2 separate regions of the Homo sapiens genome follow, and region 2 is linked to region 1. The links are contacts of gene promoters, found by promoter capture Hi-C in human tissues and cell types (Jung and others, 2019). All regions are on one chromosome and are shown on one strand. Each heading gives the region's core, a stretch centred on a gene start or on the middle of the fragment in contact. The rest is flanking DNA. Distances are from core to core; before and after follow the strand shown.

What was found. The method cuts DNA at HindIII sites, captures the fragments that hold promoters and counts their contacts. A contact is called where the count stands out against the background at its distance.
Region 2: a fragment that was not itself captured here is called in contact with the fragment with the promoter of COL5A3 in region 1 in 1 of the 25 tissues and cell types used here (pancreas).

The regions. Positions count from the first base shown.
Region 1 is chr19:10,009,025-10,012,447 of GRCh38, forward strand. COL5A3 (collagen type V alpha 3 chain) reads right to left here and starts at 1,480. Exons shown (of 67, transcript NM_015719.4): 1 at 1,274-1,480. The coding sequence starts at 1,361. The HindIII fragment of the contact is 11,359 bases long and covers 1-3,423 here.
Region 2 is chr19:10,203,016-10,206,438 of GRCh38, forward strand. No RefSeq gene overlaps it. Among named protein-coding and RNA genes, the nearest start is that of DNMT1, 9.8 kb to the left of the region's middle. The HindIII fragment of the contact is 3,473 bases long and covers 1-3,240 here.

The DNA.
Region 1 (3,423 bases), core at 230-2,729:
GGACTTATATTCAGAGTGGATGCCTAAGATTCCATGACCATGTGGATGTGTGAGCGTGGGAATGCGGCATAGTCCAATCAGGGATTAACCATATGGACAGGCACCTTCCTGGACTCCAAAGTAAGAAGTGTGCTGTGGTGTGTGTGTGTGTGTGTGTGTGTGTGTGTGTGTGTGTGTGTGTTGGGAGACTGAGCTCACCTTAGAAAGGGATTTCCAGGAGGACCTAGTCTAGGGTCTCTCAGATCAGGGAAGCCCCATCTCCAACACTTGAGAAGCTACGCCATCCCCTGACTCCCGAAGCGCCCCCCACTCTGAACCCTGAGGGGCGGGACAGGGCGCCCAGCCAGATGCGCGCAGCTGGGCGTGCGTCAGCGCTGACTCACCCATCCGGCGGCCCCCGGGACCCCTTGGGGGCTCCTGAGAAATTCCTCGGGAAAAACACCCAAGGCTCCAGCAGCTGGGGTGGGGAGGGGGGGAGCAACTTCCACTCCTGCCCCGCCCTGCGCCCCGCCCCGTCTCGCCCCTCACCGCGGCCCTCCCCGAAGCCCTGTCCATGGTGCTGATCGCGGCTCTGGGGACCGCGGGGTGGGGGAGGGGGCAACAGGGAGGGAGGGGAGGAGATGGGCGCTCGCCAATTTGGGGCAGAGGAGGAAAAGGGAGAATGAGGTGAAGCCATTTAAAGAGACGCAAAGGAAACTGTGGGTTCCCGAAGAGCACCCCCCAATACTTGTCCCCACCCACCTTCATCCTCATGGGCAATTATTTGCACCCAAAAATCATAACTACACCCCTCATAGCGGCACTCAGAGACACACAATCACACGCATAACCACTCACACGGTTACCCTCGAAAATCAGCACATAGACAAGAGCACAAGTGCATACTCACCTGTCGCAATACACACCGTCCCAGCACTGCCCTGTCACTCACAGTCACACTATCACCATCAACCTCCACACGCAAGCACATACGCAACTTCACTCCAAATGCACACACATGCTACACACACATACACACATGCACACACCTGCACATTGCATGCATTCCCACGCGCTCGCCAGAAAACGCACTCACACATCCCCACCCCCACCCCGAGCTGTCACACCCACAAATCACCCAGAGTCAGATACTCATGCGCCCACATCACACCGGGGCCGCACGCGGCGCCCACGCCCTTCCCCTCCACGCCCCTCCACCCCCCTCCACCCCTCGCTCTTTTAGAGCCTCTCTGAGTCGTGGACCCTGGGTCCCATCTCTTCCCTCCCGGCTCACCGGCCTGCGTCCCCGGCAGAAGCTGCAGCGCGGCCAGGAGCAGGCAGAGACCGGCCCGCGGCTGGCCCAGGTCCCGGCGGTTCCCCATCCCGGCGGGGCCCACGGGCAAGGCGGGGAACCAGTCGGGGCGGCTGCGGGGCGCGGCGACTTCTCGGGCTCGGTGCAGTCACTCGCGGCGGCCGCTCCTCTCAGGGTCCGCGGGAAACTGCCCGAGACCCCGCCCTGGCCTCGCCCTGCGCTCCAGCGCCTGGCCAGGCGGGGCTTTTTGGAGGGGGAGCGCTGACAGCTGGACTGGGAAGTTGGGAAACTTTGTGCTGAGGGCTGATTGGCTGGCTGGGGTGGAGCCCAGCGCCAGGAGCTGGGTTGTTCCTGCCCCACCCCACTGTGGAGGAGAAGGGTCACTCCCACCCAGCCCTAGAGTTCGAGGGTTCCAGTCTTACCCCAAACCTTTTCCGCCTAGCAGATCCCCTCAAAGGAGACCTTAACCTCATTCAAGACTTCAGCCTCCATCCAGGCCCTAGAATTAGGAGGAGGTGCAGCTTTATACCAAATCTTTTTTATTTTCTATTATTTTTACATTTTATTTTGGAGACAGGGTCTTGATCTGTCACCCAAGCTGGAGTGCAGTGGTGCAATCATAGCTCACTGCAGCCTCCAACTCCTGCGTTCAAGCCATCCACCTGCCTCAGCCTCCTGAGAAGCAGGTACCACAGGCACACACTGCCACACCCAGCTAATTTTAAAATATGTATATTTTGTAGAGACCGGGATCTTGCTATGCTGCCCAGGCCGGTCTTGAACTTCTGGTCTCAAGCGATCCTCCGGCCTTGCCCTCCCAAAGCGCTGGAGTTACAGGCATGAGCCACCGCCCCTGGCACCAAGTCCTTTCTGCCTCACTCAGGCCCCCAACTGGGGTCCCAACCTCACCCCGAACTCTCACTCACCTACCTGCTTTATCCTCAGTCCCTCAGCTGCACAATAGGAGGTACCAGCCTCAGCCCCAAAGCCTTTCCTTCAAGTCCCTAACGGGTCCTCATCCCACCTCAAATCTCACCCCAGATCCCAAAATGGGGTCCCCAGCCTTACTCCAAACCTTCATCTGTCCACTCAAATCCCTAAGTCACGTGTCCTGGTCCCAAATTCTCACCACAGATCCCAAAACACAGTTTTCACTTTCCCCAAATTCTTGATTCCTCAAATAAAGGGTCTCATCTCCATCCCTAACCCTCATCTCCCCCCGCCCCAACTCAGGTCTCCAGTGGATGCCCCGGCCTCAATCCCAAATCCCCACCAAATGAGGGAGTCTGAGCTGGGTGCGGTGGCTCATGCCTGTAATCCCAGCATTTTGAGAGGCTGGGGCGGGCAGATCGCTTGAGTCCAGGAGTTAGAGATCAGCTGGCCAACATGGCGAAACCCCATCTCTACTAAAAATACAAAAATTAGCCAGGCATTGTGACTGGCGCCTGTAGTCCCAGCTACTTGGGAGGCTGAGGTGGGAGGATCACTTGAACACGGGAGGTGGAGGTTGCAGTGAGCTGAGGTTGTGCCACTGCGATCCAGCCTGGACAACAGAGCAAGACTCTGTCTGTCTCAAAAAAAAAGGCCGGCGCGTTGGTGGGAGGTGGTGGGAATCTGTCCCTGTCGCAAAGCAACGCACAGCCACTGGGGAGGAAGGGGTGGATTCTTGCCATTCTTGGGATGAGGCAGAGGCCCCCCTCACCGTGCTGGGACCCCCACCTCCAGCATGAAGAGGCCCCCATGAGGTCAAATAGAGCTTTTATGCAATTGGACAAGCGCAGACACGCAGGATGTGAGGGTGTTTCCCCAGGGAGGGGAGGAACCAAGAGGCGTATTCTGAGCCCTGAACTGCTCCCCGAACCCTGCTTCCCCCACCTCCGCCCCAGGGGAAGAGGGAGACGCAAGCAGTGCCTCCCTCCCAGCCTCTGACTCCCCAGACAAAGAGTCTCTGTGTCCCTGAAGAGGAGGGGTTGGGGCCCCATCAAGCCTGAGGGGGAGATGGGGGCCCCCCAGGGTGGGAGGAGGAGAGGGTATCTCTGTAAGCTGTGCCTCCTCCCACCCCAGGGACATCTGAGGCTGAGACTTCTCCAACTAAAAGACTCTCACAAAATTCCTGCCCTGCCCTGCCTTGC
Region 2 (3,423 bases), core at 254-2,753, 190 kb after region 1:
AGGTACACATCACCACGTCTGACTAGTTTTGTTTTGTTTTGGTAGAGACAGGGTCTTGCTATGTTGCCCAGGCTGGTCTTGAACTCCTGGGCTCAAGCGATTCTCCTGCCTCAGCCTCCCAAAGTACTGGGATTACAAGTATGAGCCACTGCCCCTGGCCTCTCAAGTTCTTAAGTGCCCCAAAGCCTTTGTTTTTGCTGCCACTTCTGCCCAAATCAACCTTCTGGAAGATTCACACAGCTCAACGTTGCCTCAAAACAGAGGCTTCCCCAGACCACTGGGAAGCAACCCTTTACCCACCTAGTCATGCTTTACTATTACTGTTTTTTCGTAGCATTTACCACTGTCAAAGATTCTTTTTTTTTTTTTTTTTCTTTCTTAGAGTCTTGCTCTGTCACCCAGGCTGGAGTGCAGTGGTGCAATCTCAACTCACTGCAACCTCTATCTTCCAGGTTCAGGCAATTATCCTGCCTCAGCTTCCTGAGTGGCTGGGATTCCAGGCACCCACCACCTGGCTAATTTTTTGTATTTTTTTAGTAGAGACGGGGGTTTCACCATGTTGGCCAGGCTGGTCTCGAACTCCTGAACTCAGGTGATCTGCCTGCCTCCGCCTCCCAAAGTGCTAGGATTACAGGTGTAAGCCACTGCACCCAGCCTGAGATTTTCTTATTTACTATCTATCGTAATCTGTCTGTCCCACAAGAACAAAGCAGGGATTGGCACACATTTTCTCTAAAGAACCAGATAAATATTTCGGGTTTCATGAGCCACACATTCTATGCCCCAACTACTCAAACCTGCCATCATCAAAGTGCAGAAATAGCCATCACCAATATGTAAATGAGTAGGTATGACTGTGTTCCAGTAAAACTTTATTTATAAAAACAGATGGCCAGCCAGATTTGGCCTTCAGGCCTTAGTGTGCTGACTCCTCCACAGACTACAAGCTTCAGAGGAATGCAAATATAGGTTGAATTAACATATAGGACATGAGGCCAGGCATGGTGGCTCACACCTGTAATCCCAGCACTTTGCGAGGCCAAGTCAGGTAGATCACCTGAGGTCAGGAGTTCGAGACCAGCCTGGCTAACATTGTGAAACTCCATCTCTACTAAAAACACAAAAATTAGGCCAGACACGATGGTTCACACCTGTAATCCCAGCACTTTGGGAGGCCAAGGCAGGCAGATCACCTGAGGTCAGGAGTCGAGACCAGCCTGGCCAACATGGTGAAACCCTGTCTCTACTAAAAATACAAAAATTAGCTGGGCATGGTGGCGTGCACCTGTAGTCCCGGCTACCCAGAAGGCTGAGGCAGGAGAATTGCTTGAACCCAGGAGGCGGAGGTTGCAGTGAGCCAAGATCGTGCCATTGCACTCAAGCCTGGGCAACAGAACAAGACTCTGTCTCAAAAAAAACCCTCAAAAATTAGCCGTGTGTGGTGTCATGCACCTGTAGTTCCAGCTACTCAGGAGGCTGAGACAGGAGAATTGCTTGAACCCGGGAGGCGGAGGTTGCAGTGAGCCAAGATCACAACACTGCACTCCAACCTGGGCGACAGAGCGAGACCCTGTCTCAAAATAAATAAAAGTAAAGTTGTTTTTCCCCCAACAACAGTGTCATTTCCATTTCACAAACAGAAACCCAAACCAGATCAGGTTACAAACCTAGTTTTGTCTCCAGTTCCTGGGTCATTTGCTTTGTTCACTTGACCACTAGAAATCTCAAACAAAGGGCCAGGCACAGTGACTCACACCTGTAATCCCAGCACTTTGGGAGGCCGAGGCAGGTGGATCGCTTGAGGTCAAGAATTTGAGACCAGCCTGGCCAAAATGGTTAAACCTCATCTATGCTAAAAATATGAAAATTAGCTGGGTGCAGTGGCTCACACCTATAATCCCAGCTACTTGGGAGGCTGAGGCAGGAGAATCGCTTGAACCCGGGAGTTTGAGGTTGTAGTGAGCTGAGATTGTGCCACTGCACTCCAGCCTGGGCAACAGAGTGAGACTCCATCAAGAAAGAGAGAGAGAGAAAGACACACAGAGAGAGAGAAAGCAAGAGAAAGAGAGAGAGAGACAGAGAGAGAGAAAGAGAGAGAGAGAAAGAGAGAGAGAGAAAGAGAGAGAAAGAGAGAAAGAGAAAAAGAGAGAGAAAGAGAGAAAGAGACAGAGAGAGAAAGAGAGAAAGAGAAAAAGAGAGAGAAAGAAAGAGAGAGAGAAAGAGAGAAAAAGAGGAAGAGAGAGAAAGAGAGGAAGAGAGAGAGAGAAAGAGAGAGAGAAAGGAAAGAGAAAAGAAAAGAAAGGAGAAGGCCTGGCGCGGTGGCTCACGCCTGTAATCCCAGCACTTTGGGAGGCCAAGGCGGGCGGATCACGAGGTCAGGAGATCGAGACTATCCTGGCTAACACAGTGAAACCCCGTCTCTACTAAAAATACAAAAAAAATAGCTGGGCGTGGTGGTGAGCACCTGTAATCCCAGCTACTCGGGAGGCTGAGGCGGGAGAATGGCGTGAACCCGGGAGGCGGAGCTTGCAGTGAGCCGAGATTGCACCATTGCACTCCAGCCTGGGTGAAAGTGTGAGACTCTGTCTCAAAAAAAAAAAAAATGAAAGGAGAAAAGAAAGACCAAACAAAGGTCGAGTACAGTGGCTCATGCCTTACCTGAGAGAAGGAAGTGGAGCCTCTAAAAGAAAACAGGTACAGATTTCATGGGCATTCACTCTGCCTCCACCTCTCAGCCTCCAAAGTCACATTTCCTAATATGCCACAAGACAGACTTGCCAGGCCAGGCATGGTGGTTCATGCCTGTGATCCCAGCGCTTTGGGAAGCTGGGGCAGGATTGCTTAAGGACAGGAATTTGAGGCTGCAGTGAGCTATAATCATGCTACTGCACTCTAGCCTGGGCAACAGAGTAAGTCCACATCTCTAAAAAACAAAAAATAAATTTAGGCCGGGCACGGTGGCTCATGCCTGTAATCCCAGCACACTGGGAGGCCAAGGCAAGTGAATCACTTGAGGTCAGGTGTCCGAGACTGGCCACCATGGCGAAACCTCATCTCTACTAAAAATACAAAAATTAGCTGGGCATGGTAGCAGGCGCCTGTAATTCCAGCTACTCGGGAGGCTGAGGCACAAGAATCACTTGAACCTGGGAGGTGGAGGTTGCAGTGAGCCAAGATCATGCCACTGCACTCCACCCTGGGTGACAGAACAAGACTCTGTCCCCACCAAAAAGAAAAAATGTAAATGAAAAGGAAAGATCTGCCAGGCCATAGCTCCTTGCTTCCCAGGCCACATTCCAGGGAGGCCAGGAGAGGCCCAGAGACCAGTCTAACCGAGGTCCAGGCAGCCCAGAGCACGAAGGCTGGTGGAGAGCTGGCCACGTGTCCTGAGCTACGGTCAGTCAGAAGGCTGAAGGTGAGTCA